Regions from separate parts of the Homo sapiens genome. Here regions 1 and 3 are each linked to region 2. The links are contacts of gene promoters, found by promoter capture Hi-C in blood cells and fetal thymus (Javierre and others, 2016). All regions are on one chromosome and are shown on one strand. The core of a region is centred on a gene start or on the middle of the fragment in contact, and the rest is flanking DNA. Distances in the headings are between cores, read along the strand shown. Region 1 overlaps HAVCR2 (hepatitis A virus cellular receptor 2). Region 2 holds the start of FNDC9 (fibronectin type III domain containing 9). Region 3 overlaps MED7 (mediator complex subunit 7).

Region 1 (4,985 bases), core at 170-2,669, 240 kb after region 2:
ACAGGCGTGACCCACCGTGTGCCCGGCCACTTTTTCATACACCTTTGATAGTGTTTGAATGTTTTTACTGTAGTTGAGTCATATGAAAACAAAGGGGACATAAAAAATCAAAAGAAAATATATAATGAATGTTTTATCATATATAAAATATATATAGTTTTTTTTTAATGGAATTAACTTTGTCATTTGAGGAAAATGAGGAGACAAGTCTCAATCATTTTAGGAGATTTGTTTGCCAAAGTTAAGGAGGCACCTGAGAGACAGGTCTATGACTTTCTCAGAAGATGATTTTGAGGGCTCCAGATTTAAAGGGGACAAGGTGGGATATTGAGAAGCACTCAGTTTTCACATAAAAAAGGGGGGGGGGCAGAGGAAAAATATGGGGAATCTGCATTTTACATTAGATAACACAGACAAAATGGGGTAGGGAAACAATCAGATAACGCATTTGTGTCTGGCCAGGGTGACCGCACCGGTAAAGATGAGCTATCAATCTGCATTGCACAGCTGACCAGGAATTTCCTTGTGGGCAAAATATGGGGGAGGTATGCAGCCTTTCATCCTGTAGCCATCTTATTCAGGAATCAAAAAGAGGAGGCAGGTTTCTGTGACCCAGTTCCCAGCTTGACTTTTCCCTTTGACTGAATGAGTTTGGGGTCCCAAAATTTAATTTCTTTTCACAACTTTAAACCTTAAAACAACTCCATGAGTAGTTTCAAATACACAAGATCCTTATTTAACCAAGGGTTTGTATTTACTGTGCACTTGCTGCTTAAAAAGAGAAGTATGTTAGGAGAGCCTCCCTTTGTTGATGAACAAGCAAGTAGCCCAGATGGGCGGGCCGTTTCCTGGCTGACCATGACTAATTTTCTGATTGTCTGTTTCCATCAGCCCTGTTCTCCCGTGTTCACAGAATTGGGCCACAATTCTCTCCTAGGGCAGTGTTTCTGAAAGTGAGGTTCTGAGACCAGCCACTTCAGCAACACTTGAGAACTTGTTAGAAATAAAAGTTCTCAGGCTCTACCACAGGCCAACTGAGTCAGGAACTCTAGCAGTTGAGCCCAGCAATCTGTGTTTTCGCAAGGCTTCCCAGTGATTCTGATGGCCTTCACATCTGAGAAGCATTGTCACAGCGAATCATCCTCCAAACAGGACTGCAGCAGTAGCTTCCTCTTTATTCTGTAAGACATGGCTTGCAGTTTTCCTGAAATGGAGTAACCTCACTCACCGCTTGAGTCTTGGCTCTCCTTCTCTCTCTATGCAGGGTCCTCAGAAGTGGAATACAGAGCGGAGGTCGGTCAGAATGCCTATCTGCCCTGCTTCTACACCCCAGCCGCCCCAGGGAACCTCGTGCCCGTCTGCTGGGGCAAAGGAGCCTGTCCTGTGTTTGAATGTGGCAACGTGGTGCTCAGGACTGATGAAAGGGATGTGAATTATTGGACATCCAGATACTGGCTAAATGGGGATTTCCGCAAAGGAGATGTGTCCCTGACCATAGAGAATGTGACTCTAGCAGACAGTGGGATCTACTGCTGCCGGATCCAAATCCCAGGCATAATGAATGATGAAAAATTTAACCTGAAGTTGGTCATCAAACCAGGTGAGTGGACATTTGCATGCCATCTTTATGAATAAGATTTATCTGTGGATCATATTAAAGGTACTGATTGTTCTCATCTCTGACTTCCCTAATTATAGCCCTGGAGGAGGGCCACTAAGACCTAAAGTTTAACAGGCCCCATTGGTGATGCTCAGTGATATTTAACACCTTCTCTCTGTTTTAAAACTCATGGGTGTGCCTGGGCGTGGTGGCTCACACCTCTAATCCCAGCACTTTGGGAGGCTGAGGCCGGTGGATCATGAGGTCAGGAATTCGAGACCAGCCTGGCCAACATAGTAAAACCTTGTCTCCACTAAAAATACAAAAAATTAGCCAGGCATGGTTACGGGAGCCTGTAATTCTAGCTACTTGGGGGGCTGAAGCAGGAGAATCACTTGAACCTGGGAGTCGGAGGTTGTGGTAAGCCAAGATCTCGCCATTGTACTCCAGCCTGGCTGACAAGGGTGAAACTCTGTCTCAAAAAAAAAAAAAGAAAAGAAAAGAAAAGCCAAAACTCATGGGTGGAATGTATAGATGGGATGAAAGGCCTAGATCAGTGGTTAGAGACCCTGACTCTCATTAGAATCACATAGAGAGTTTTTAAACAACTATAGATGCCAGGTACAGTGGCTCATGCCTATAATCCCAATACTTTGAGAGGCTGAAGCAGGAGGATCACTTGAGGTCAGGAGTTTGAGACCAGCCTGGCTGATATACTGTGGCTACCCCTATCTCTTAAAAAGCAGAAGAAAAAACCCCACTACCAAAAACCAGAGAAATCAGCATCTCTGGAGGTAGATGCTAAGCATTAGCTTTTTACAGAGTCTACCTCAGGTGATTTTACCCCAGGTGCAGCCAGCATGGTGAACTGCTGGGTTATGCATGTATGCTGGGAGGTGAACAGACTTAAGATTTCTATAACATGTACTTTGTGCCCAGATAGAGCTGAGTTTACATCTAACTCTGCCTCTTACTAGCTATATAATCCTGAGCAAGTTATTGAAACGCTGTGAGCTCCTCTTCTATAAAATATGACAATAATACCGATCATGTGGGCCATTAGAAGGATTTTATGTGATAATATTTTATTAAAAGCCTTTATAGGTTGGGCATCCCAAATCTGAAAATCTAAAACCTAAAATGCACCAAAATCTGAAATGCTCTAAAATCCAAAACTTTTTGGACACTGACATGACATTCAAAGGAAAAGCTCATTGGAACATAAGTATAGGCAGATACTAAAAAATAAAAAAATAAAAACATGGCTGGGCGTGGTGGCTCATGCCTATAATCCCAGCACTTTGGGAGGCTGAGGTGGGTGGATCACCTGAGGTCGGGAGTTCGAGACCAGTCTGACCAACATGGAGAAACCCTGTCTCTACTAAAAATACAAAATTAGCCAGGTGTGGTTGCACATGCCTGTAGTCCCAGCTACTCAGGAGTCTGAGGCAGGAGAATTGCTTGAACCCAGGAGGCGGAGGTTGCAGTGAGCCGAGATTATGCCATTGCACTCCAGCCTGGGCAACAAGAGCAAAACTCCGTTTCAAAAAAAAAAAAAAAATTCAAAATCTAAAACATTTCTGATCTCAAGCATTTCAGATAAGGAGTCTTCAACCTGTAATTATGGCCATTTGTGTGGCTGTTAGTTCCGCTATTAATAATCAGAATGTAACAATGATGACTGCATCTTACCTTTGTCAAACATTTGAAGTGTGTGATACACTCTCAACGTAGGTATCCAGGCAGGTTTGGAAGCTGAGGGTGTATTTCTCTTTCTTAATTGTCTTTCGCATTTTTTTCTTGCTGCCCCTTTGATTCCCTGAAATAAGCTTTCTGCTCTCAGATAATTTTCATCCTTATGTTGTTTCTGACATTAGCCAAGGTCACCCCTGCACCGACTCGGCAGAGAGACTTCACTGCAGCCTTTCCAAGGATGCTTACCACCAGGGGACATGGCCCAGGTAACTATGCATGGGGCAGAGGAGGGAATCTTTAGCTGGCTCTGAATTCAGAGGATTTTGAATGTGGGAAAAAAAGATGAGAAAACAGTGTGAGAGTGGAGGCATGGATATCTCCGTGCACCTGAAATAGTGTTTGAAAAGAGGGAAGTGGTGGAGACACACCTGTGCTGGGAAAAAGATGGTCTGGCTTAGGATTATTTTACTTAAATTTTAACTGGAAAAAAGTTAATAAACTTTATAGTCTTTAATTTTACTTAAATATTAACTAAATTGAATGAAATGCTCATTACTTTGTCCACATTTTCTGACTGACCCTGGACTGGTGATGTTTGGTCATGAACTGGTGTCAGTCTGTGTTTGGGAACTGACACATTGGATTAGGTGATTTCTAGGATGCCTTCTAGCTAGAATAAAGCCCATCACCTTCCCTGGATTCCAGCCACAGAAAGAATAGTTAAATTCTTCATGTAATTCAGCAAGGACGTACTCAGGGTGCTCCAGAAGAGAACACTGGGCATAAAGCAGAAGTCAAGTCACATTGATCATGAAGGTTAATTTTAAGGTATTTCTTGTCAGTGTCCTGGTCTCTTCTAAACTCTCTGGAGCTCCATTTTTTTTTTCTTCTGTAAAATGAGGTTAATAGGTGAGTCCCACCTCATAATGTCATAAATCTCATAAATCACACCTTATGGGCTTTAAATAAGAAAATGTCTAAAACGTTTATCCCAATGTCTGACCACAATTTGTACATGTTAGCTGTTGTCGTTAATATTATAAGATCAGGAGGCACAGTGAGATTGTGGTTAAAGTACTTCAGTGACAGGTGGAATGGGTTCTAATTTCAGCTGTTCTTGATAGCTCTGTGACCTCAGTCAAGTTGCTCAAATTCTCTGAAGCTCAGTTTGCTCATCTCTACAATGAGGATAATTCCAGTGCCCATGTCATGAGGTGGTTGTAATGTATAAACATGATAATGTATGTAAAATGCTCAGCATAGTACCTGGCCCATAAAAAGCACTCAACTGTTTATTATTACTATAGTTACTGGTTTTAGCTCTCCAAAGTTTCAGTCTTTGGTTAGTCTTTAGTGATTGGTAGCCAACATCTTTTATGCAATTAGAGAGGAAACTAAATATGGTGGGGACAGAAAATAATAAAGTTATACCAGATACTTATTGTATGCCATTGTTATATTTTAAAGAATCTTACAACCATAGTGCTAGAAGGGACTTCAAGGGTCATTTAGTCTCACTTTCCCATCCTGTGCTTCAGTACTTTTTTTTTTTTTTTTAATTGAGACGGAGTCTTGCTCTGTCACCCAGACTAGAGTGCAGTGGCGCAATCTCGGCTCACTGCAAGTTCCGCCTCCTGGGTTCACGCCATTCTCCTGCCTCAGCCTCCCAAGTAGCTGGGACTACAGGCGC
Region 2 (4,798 bases), core at 1,689-4,188:
CATGGTGAAACTCCGTCTCTACTAAAAATACAAAAATTAGCTGGGCATGGTGGTGCACACCTGTAGTCCCAGGTACTCGGGAGGCTGAGGCAGGAGAATCACTGGAACCCGGGAGGCAGAGGTTGCAGTGAGCCGCAATTTTGCCACTGCATTCCAGCCTGGGCAACAGAGTGAGACTCCAGCTCAAAAATAATAATAATTAGCCAGGGGTGGTAGTGCACACCTGTAGTCCTAGCTACTTGAGGGGGCTGAGGCAGGAGGATCTCCTGAGCCTTGGGAGGTCAAGGCTGCAGTGAGCCATGACTGTGCCACTGCACTCCAGCCTGGGAATTCCAGGGCGTGCTCTGTGAGCCACTCACTTTCCCCATGTGCCAATCCAGCTTTGGGACTGGGGCTTGCCCCATATTATCCCTTCACTGCCACCTTCAGGAAGGGTGGAAGAACCTTGCTCCTAGCTGATTTCCTCTAGCAGTAATTTACTACTGATGTCAACTAGCTGGGGCTCACCTGGCCTGAGAGCGAAGAGGCTACAACTTGCACAGACTCTGGAGGAATTGTCCCTGATGATGGAGAAAGTGTGAGCCTGGCTGGGGTGTAATGTCCTGGGGCAGGTGTCCCAGATACTTTATCTCCTTCACAAACGGCTGCACTGGCTCCTCTGGGTGCTGCTGGTGAGCGGCGACAGCTCAGAGGAGCGGGATGAACCCTGGCCTCCGCCTCCGAGTCTGGGGCCCCACCCCATTTCACTGGCAGCTCTGCCACTCATCAGTCAAGCGGTCTGAGGAATGCCATGTCTTCTCCCAGGACTGTGAAACAAGAGGGCTTGGAGGCCTCACATTCTCTGAGTATCTTAATTCCACAGTGGAAAATTTCTCTTGGTTAAAAATGTCATCCAAGAATATTAAAAATAAATTCCAATTTTCTGTGGAAAAAGGCTTGAGTTCTACCTTGTTCCTCCTCAGACCCCTTAACTCTGGTATTTTTACTCCCCGCAAAATAACCTTTTCAAAGGGCATCTGCAAACAGCTGCGTGGCCTTTCTGTGGGGAGGATGCTTTTATGCTCCGTGGGGACTCACCATTAGCACTTGACCTGGCTGTGCTCGCATGGGAAGAGACATGCTGCATGCATTGCTGCAGATTTAAGACAGGCGCCTGGGAAGACTGAATGCCATGGGCAAGCTGCAGAGCAACTTTCTGATCAAGGAACACTGGCTTGTTCCCGAGTTCCCAAGACTCCAAGCCTCCCGGAGACCTTTGGCCAAGGGTAGGGTCACAACTCACCAAGGCGGCTCTTTTTTTTTTTTTTTTCCAAGGGAAAAAGTCTTTCTATAATACCCAGGCTGGTCTGGAACTCTTAAGCTCAAGTGATCCTCCCACCTCAGCCTCCCAAGTGGCTGGGACTACAGGTGCACACCACTGCAGCTGTGCCTGGCTTTCTTCCTAACCTTTTATCATTAATGTGAATCAGAAAGAGACCTTCATGGGTTAACTTGGATACTTTGGCCAAGAACCAAGAAGAGAAAAGCTGACTTTTAAAAACATATAATGTGTATAAATTTATTCAGGTCTACATCTATCTGAGCTACTTTCCACCCTCTATTCCAGACACACCCTGTGATCTCAATAGAATGGTGGCAATGGGTTCTTACAAGGTTGAAAGGAACAGGAAGGGATGGAACCTCAAAGCCAGACGGCCCTTTATGAGAAAAGGGGAGGCAAGCAGTCTGGATTCTTGAAAGGAAAGGAACGCTGGGGATGATTCAATCCAGGAGTAGCAAACAGTTTCCATTTCTGGCGTCAACTCCAACTGATTGATTGGGAAGCAGTTTCTTGGGACGCTTGTGTTCAGAGGAACTCTGGGGCTGTTTCTGCACCCAGCTGGAAGCAGTGCTGCATTAGATTCCTAGGGTTGCTATCACAAATTACCATAAATGTGGCAGCTTAACATGACAGAAATTTATTCTCTCACAGTTCTGGAGACCAGAAGCCTGAAATCAAGGCTCTCGCAGAACCATGCCCTCTCCAAGGCTCTAGGGGAGAATGTTTCCTTGCCTTCCCAGCTGCTGATGGCTCCCGGTGTTCCTTGGCTGATGGCAGCATCCTTCCACTCTCTGCCTCTGTTTTCCCTTGGCTTCTTCCCCTTGAGTCTCTCTGTCTTTTCTCTTACAAAGACATTAGTCATTGGATTTAGGGCTCACCCTTAAATCCAGGAAGATTTCATCTTGAGATCCTTAACTAGTTATATCTACGAAGGCTCTATTTCTAAATCAGGTCACATCCTAAGGTTCTGGATGGATATGTATTTTGGGGGGGCATTATTCAACCCAGTGAGAGTGCCATGATGGTTTAGCAAGCTTGACAGGGGTTCAGGGCTGTGCAGGGATAGGGCTCAGGTCTTCTGCCTTCTGATCTGCCATCCTGATGTAGCCCAAGCCCACAGCTTTACAGATGATGGTGGAACTGAGACTCAGACAATAAAAATAAAAGGGTCTTGACCAGTACCATATAACTATGTAATGGCACATGAGTCAAGAATAAAGAAAGATGAAGATAAAGAGGTGGGGTAGGCAGTTGGGATGGGGAAGTGTAGGGGTGGGAGGGGATGAAGATGAATATTACTGCTTTGGTTGTGGAATAACTGAGAAAAGCATCTTTGCATTTAAAACCATTGGCCAAAGAGGATCTAGATGGGACAAGAAAATAATAATCAGCCAACTGGGGAGAAAATGTAGGAGTGTTAGAAGAATTAGTACTGCACTGGGGACCAGTTTTCAGGGGATCATCTGCCCTTTTTCAGCCAAAGGAATGAGAGCTCCTCTCACTGGGCAAAAGCCTTTCCAGGCTGGTCCCTGAAAGCATCGTGCGTACAGATGCCTGCTGGTTGCCATGGTGAATGATGCTGATCTGAAGAAATGAATAATGTGAGCATTAGGGGCGGCAGTGGGATTACTCAGTGTTGAGAGAAACAACACGGAAAGCCCAGAGCAGAGGAGGGAGAAGGCCCCATTCTCTCAGCTTTAATCTACTGCACCTCGGAGGGCAGAGCTCTAACCAGACACGCTGCAAGCATCAGGTAAGACATATAGATGGCTCTTCTTGGAAATGGAAATGGCTTCTTTTCACACTCTGCTTGGAGAAGGGCCGGGCAAATGAATAGTTAAAAATAGGGGAGAATTTAGAAACGGAAACAGAGGAAGAAAAATCAATAAGGGAGACGGACCTGGTCCTAAAAGGTGAGGATGCTATTTGCGTCTTGACAGAAAGCTCTTAAAAATGTCTGCTGAGGTAATTCCATCTGTACAGACAGCTAGTGGCAGATAGGAAGCCAAGAGAACATTTGTGCGTGACAAGAAACAGGATTCCTGATTACTCCTGATGGAAAGGTTTTACACAGGTGGCTGCCTATAATGAATTAAGCTCTTTTCATCGTGGTCGAAAGTGTATTTATAGTGATGTGTGGTGTGGGGAGGATGAGTGTGTAGAGGACACCAAGCTAGGAAACATAAACATTCGGTCTCCTTCATGATGACCTTCCCTGGAAGGGTCTGAGCACATCCGTCTCATCCCTTTCGTTCCCTATTTACTGGGAAGAAATATTCAGCCACATAGAAAGACACTATTCACCTTCCTGAGTATCTTAGTTCACTGTTACCCTTACAGAAGAAAAACAAGGATTAAGAAACTACTCAATGCTGTGCACCTTTCTGCAGCTCCACTCCTGGAGGAAAATGGGCACAAACACAAGAGGATGGGGGAAAGCAGAGGTGAGAGAAAGGCAGGTCATAATAGCCATTGGTTTGGCTTAATATCCAATGCAGGCGAAAATCCAGTTGACAGCTGTTTACTATGTCACTGCAACCCAAAATGAAACCTACGGGGTTTCATGTGAGGGAGGAGAGGCGGAAGACAAAGCAGGGTGAGACTGTTATGTGAATATGCGTAGGCTGACTATGACTGTCTCTGTATTTCTGATCAGGGGCAATCAGTAGAGGGAACTGCATGAGAGAAACTAAAATACTTGAAGATGGCTCTCTCTTATCAAAGCGGGGCCTGGCAATCTAAAGAGGGCTCATTTGATTTGTCTGGAAAAACAGCAACTGGGTCTCAGTCCTGGCACCTCATTTTGCGATAACGTCTGTAACTAAACCCGGCAGCCTTGCATTAGGAAATGTAGTGGTTAGGCGGCACTAAGTCCTTTTTCTACGTATTAGCGGTGTGACATCAGGTTGCTCATCCGTAAAATGGGAATCTAGCTCAGAGGATGTGATGAAGAATAAAGGAAATTAATTACTGCCTGTGAATCATCTAGCATGACAAGTGACATAGCAACCACTTACTGTGAGTGGTTATTACCATGATTAACATTCATAATAACAGCAGAATTAAATAGTGGTAGTTATGCTGATATTAGGGGCTGATTATCTTCACCCATAAAATAAATTTCCTGGTACCGCTGGCTTTGAAAAAACAAACAAACAAAACAAGAGCAGAAGCTTTGGGGTGAGATCAGCTGCCAAAGAGTGACGAAGCGAATTTCCACTCACCATGGGCAACAGAACCAGGAGGCTAAAAAAAGCAGTGGGCAGAATGTTCTAGATCACTGAGCTCACAGTACTTGGAGCAGAAACAGGAGGTCAAGAAGGAAAATTGAGGTGAATCAATTGCCTGAGGGGAGGTCACAGACCTGAGAATAAAGGTGGAGCCTCTGAGGTTCTACTGATTTCTCCTTACCTTTTCTTCTTTTTTCTTAAGGGGATGAGAACAATCCCCTTAAGAAAATCCCCTTTGTTATCTGAA
Region 3 (4,711 bases), core at 2,000-4,499, 210 kb after region 2:
TCCCCCGACTGTCCATCTGCTCTTCCACCAAGGTGTTAGTGGAGAGTTGACCTTGTGTCTGAGGATCTCTGCCTGCCGTTTTCTTAATGTAGGCCCGTGGTTCTTAAAGTGTGTGGTCCTGGACCAGCAGCATTGGTATCACTTGGGGACTTACTAGAAATAAAAGTTTTAGTATAATCCGTAGGTTCAGAAAAATAAAAAATAAATGAGGGTTCTCTGGCTCCATCCCAGACCTTTTGAACCAGAAACTTCTGGGTGTAGGTCCCAGCAAGCTGTATTTTAAGAAGCCTATGTGATTATGATACATGCTCAAGATTAAGAAACATTGAGGCTGGGTGCAGTGGCCCACTCCTGTAATCCCAGCACTTCGGGAGGCTGAGGCTGGTGGATCACCTGAAGTCAGGAGTTCGAGACCAGCCTGACCAACATGGGGAAATCCCATCTCTACTAAAATACAAAATTAGCTGGGCTTGGTGGCGCATGCCTGTAATCCCAGCTACTCGGGAGGCTGAGGCAGGGAGAATCACTTGAATCTGGGAGGCAGAGGTTGTGGTGAGCTGAGATTGCACCATTGCACTCCAGCCTAGGCAACAAGAGCGAAACTCCATCTCAAAAACAAAAAAGAACCATTGAGAGGCAATGCCTTTCCCCAGATGTCTACTTTTTTATTTCTTCCTTAGCCCCTGGTTTCTAGCATAGGGATTTGCTCACTTAAACTTTCATTGGTCCTAGAGCTAGCAAAGTTCACATTAAAATGATTATAAGGGGCCTGGCGCAGTGGCTCATGCCTGTAATCCTAGCACTTTGGGAGGCTGAGGTGGGTGGATTGCTTGAGGTCAGGAGTTTGATACCAGCCTGGCCAACATGGCAAAACCCCGTCTGTACTAAAAATACAAAAATTAGCCGGGCATAGTGGCAGGCGCCTGTAATCCCAGCTACTCGGGAGGCTGAGGCACGAGAATTCCTTGAACCCAAGGGGTGGAGGTTGCAGTGAGCCGAGATCGTGCCACTGCACTCCAGCCTGGGTGACAGCAAAACTCTGTCTAAAATATATATATATATGTGTATGTATGTATATATGTATGACTATAGGTCAGTTCTCTATGAAATGTGCATGCTGTGCTTTCACAGATCCAGGGACTGTAAGTTATCCCTAGGTAGACACTTCTTTATCAGATAGGCAGTTGGTTGGCTAGTCTCAACTTTTGTTTTTTTCTGGTACGTAATGTGTTTGGTATAGACCTTTGGGCCTCAGAGACTCCAGAGGACATAGTTCAGGCTCTCAAGCTTAAATTGAAGTAGGGAGCATCACCTTGTGAGGGAGAAAGGTGGAAATTGCTTAGCACTTGAACAACTCTCCAAAGAAAATTCTCTTTCTTTGACTCTGAGAACCTTGAGGAAGGTGTTGGGTTGAGGTGCAAAACCAGTTTTTGGCCACTTTGAAAATCTTTGCATGTAAAAAACAGAATCACATAAGAGCCACAACACTACTTATATATGAACGTGTGTGTGTTGGGGGGAGGGGCGTTGAGGGATTAAAATGCCACTGGGGGGCCAGGCACAGTGGCTTATGCCTGTAATCCCAGCACTTTGGGAGGCTGAGGTAGGAGGATGGTTTTAGGTCAGGAGTTTGAGACTAGCCTAGGCAACATAGTGAGACCGTGTCTCTACAACAAATTAGAAAAAAAAATGCCATTGGGGAGGATCTGATCTTGCAGGTCTGTGACTAGGACCTGACATAAATTCCTAAAGTGTTCTGATATGAACTCTTGCTATTAGAGTGGAATGAAAAAAAAGCTCTAGTGGCCTTATATAAGGTCTTTTTAATCTTGTGTTAAAATATATCTCTGCACACCTACTTATAATGAATATTCTTGAAAGATTGATTCATTGAAGTGAAATATCTGGAAGGATCACCTTTTTAAGCAGCTTTTGAAATGACTAATGCCCAGGTCCCACACTGCGGAGATTCTGATTTCATTTTTTGGACTGGGGTACTAGCATTGGTTTTAAGAAATCAGAAGATGATTCTCTTGTGCAGTGGTTACAGAATGTTGCATTAATCAGTGCTCTGTTACTGCTGACAAAAACCCTACTTGAACTAATTTAAGCAAAAAGATGAATTTATATAAAGGATATGGGGTATGGGCTGGGTACGGTGGCTCACACTTATAATCCTAGTGCTTTGGGAGGTTGATGTGAGAGGATCACTTGAGCTCAGGAATTTGAGACCAATGGGGGCAACATAGTGAGACCTTCTCTCTCTTACAATTTAATTAAAAAAAGAAAGGATATGGGATATGTTGATTGAAGGATAAGTTGAATATATAAACCATGAGAAGGTCAGAAAGTGGATGAAGTTTTAAGTTAGTAGCCCTGGAGACCATCTTTCCTGTTAGCTTCATTCTCTTTACAGATGAACTTCTTTAATGATGTAGGTGGAGAACATGGCAGCTGACAGTTCCTAAGGGTTAAGTATTTCTATGTTTACCACTGTCTGGGAGTTCCCTCTCAAATGCAAACTTAAAAAAAATGAGGGGAGGTTAATTAACGAGCTAGACATGAGGAATTAGGGGTTGTATACTTGATTGCAACTGGGCAAATCAACTGGGACTTGGATCCCATAAGAATTTCACAGTCCCCGCTATGTCTATTTATGGAAGAGTCAGTCTGTCTCTCAGAGGAAGGAAGCGGTGCTGAGCTAACGATAACGAGAGATCTACTACAAATCAGGCACATGTGAACTTAATATAAATAACAAACATAAACGGATTGTACAAATTTGTATTCCCTTTATGAGAGTAGTTTTTCCCCAGCTATTCATTTATTCATGATATTCATTTGATGAATACTTACTGTGGTCTGCACTCTGCCTGATACTAGTTTAACTGTTGGATGTGTGGGAAGGGCGAAGGAAAATGTAAGAAAGATAATAAGACGAGTTAATTTTTGAAGGTGATAAGTTTGTGTCTTAACCACTCAGCCATTACAGCACCTTCAGAAGAATCTTGCTTCCAGTTATGTTCCTATTGCCTGTTCAAAGCACCTTGTCCACATTATCTTCCCTTTTCAAGGAATGTGTACATTTTTTTTTGTCTTTTAAAACTTTTTTTTTTTTTTTGAGATGGAGTCTCACTCTGTCACCAGGCTGGAGTGCAGTGGCGCAATCTTGGCTCACTGCAACCTGCAACTCCCTGGTTCAAGTGATTCTCCTGCCTCAGCCTCCCGAGTAGCTGGGACTACAGGCGTGCACCACCATGCCCAGCTAAGTTTTGTATTTTTAGTAGAGAAGAGGTTTCACCATGTTGACCAGGATGGCCTCGATCTCCTGACCTCGTGATCCACCTGCCTTGGCCTCCCAAAGTGCTGGGATTACAGGCGTGAGCCACCATGCCCGGCCTAAAACTTTTTTTTTCTTTTTAAGTAGAGATGAGGTCTCACTATGTTGCCCAGGTTGGTTTCAAACTCCTGAGCTCAAGTAATCCTCCAGCCTCCCGAAGTGCTGGGATTACAGGTGTGAGCCACCATGCCTAACCTCACATTTGTTAAGGAATTTAGAAGGCAACTTTGCTAGGCACGGTGACTCACACTTGTGATCCCATCACTGAGAAACTGAGGCAGGAGTATCACTTGAGTCCACGAGTTCGAGACCAGCCTGGGCAACATAGGGAGACCCCATCTCTACAAAAATATTTAAAAATTCGCTGGATGTGATGGCACATGACGGGTTCCAGCCATTCCAGAGGCTGAAGTAGAAGGGACACTGGAGTCCAGGAGGTCAAGGCTGCAGTGAGCCACAGTCATGCCACTGCACTCCAGCTTGAGTGACAGAGTGAGACCATGTCTCAAAAACATAAAGAAAGGCAGCTTCAACTCATGCACTGAGCCCTGAGGTTACTGGGAACGGCAGGTGCAAATATCTCATGAGGAGATAGAAAGTTGGCATAATTTGGATGAGAAAGGCTACTATGGCTGCAATATGGTGAGGGAGGAGGTTGGAGCTTCAGAAGCAGGTGGAGGACAGATGTGCATGATTTAGAGAACCAAGGGAAGGAATTGGGTTTTTATCTGAAATCTGATGAGAAATTATGTTTGCAATTGATTTCTCATCAGATTTTACTAAAATACAGAGAATCAGTAGGAAGGGTACTAGCTGTACTCTGATAGATTTCTAAGTACTGCAAATGGTGCTAAGTGCTTTGTAGCTGTTCTCTTATTTAATCCTTAGAACAATCCTGTGAAGAACCTTCTAAATCTGATGGTATTTATGGCTGTAAGTTGCTGGCAATGTTTTAATCTCTTTGTATAAATAAAGTCATTTTAGCCTTACAACTACTGAATGAAATCAGTATTCTTTTTACACTCATATTTCAGATGTGGAAGTGGAGGCTCAGAGAAGTTATGTAATTTACCCAAGGTTAACTGACTAGTGGGTGGCAAAGCCAGGATGGAAACTAGGCATTCTAGTTTTCCAAGCCTGAACACTCAACCTTCATACTTCATTGCCTCTCCATTCCCTCATGTTGTTACTAAGTCACGTAGGTAAGTAAGTAGCGAAACCAAGAGTGGAGCCAATATTTTGACCCTAAAATCCATGCTTGCAAATACTACTTGATACTGGGCTGAACAGATTTATAGATGGAAACTATGAGTTCCCTTTGAACATATTAAGGTGCTTATGTCTTAGCTTAGACTTCTATGAGTATCTTAA

What was found. The method cuts DNA at HindIII sites, captures the fragments that hold promoters and counts their contacts. A CHiCAGO score of 5 or more calls a contact.
Region 1: a contact is called between a fragment that was not itself captured here and the fragment with the promoter of FNDC9 in region 2, in 1 of 17 cell types (activated CD4 T cells). The highest score is 5.3, in activated CD4 T cells.
Region 3: a contact is called between a fragment that was not itself captured here and the fragment with the promoter of FNDC9 in region 2, in 3 of 17 cell types (activated CD4 T cells, non-activated CD4 T cells and total CD8 T cells). The highest score is 6.8, in activated CD4 T cells.

The regions. Positions count from the first base shown.
Region 1 is chr5:157,103,242-157,108,226 of GRCh38, reverse strand. It overlaps HAVCR2 (hepatitis A virus cellular receptor 2), which reads left to right. Exons shown (of 7, transcript NM_032782.5): 2 at 1,265-1,600; 3 at 3,478-3,561. Among named protein-coding and RNA genes, the nearest start is that of HAVCR2, 3.3 kb to the left of the region's middle. The HindIII fragment of the contact is 4,025 bases long and covers 1-3,431 here.
Region 2 is chr5:157,343,817-157,348,614 of GRCh38, reverse strand. FNDC9 (fibronectin type III domain containing 9) reads left to right here and starts at 2,938. Exons shown (of 2, transcript NM_001001343.4): 1 at 2,938-3,074. All of the region lies in intron 23 of CYFIP2 (cytoplasmic FMR1 interacting protein 2), which reads right to left. The HindIII fragment of the contact is 2,139 bases long and covers 2,358-4,496 here.
Region 3 is chr5:157,132,915-157,137,625 of GRCh38, reverse strand. It overlaps MED7 (mediator complex subunit 7), which reads left to right. Exons shown (of 2, transcript NM_004270.5): 2 at 1-202. Among named protein-coding and RNA genes, the nearest start is that of MED7, 7.6 kb to the left of the region's middle. The HindIII fragment of the contact is 3,920 bases long and covers 1,290-4,711 here.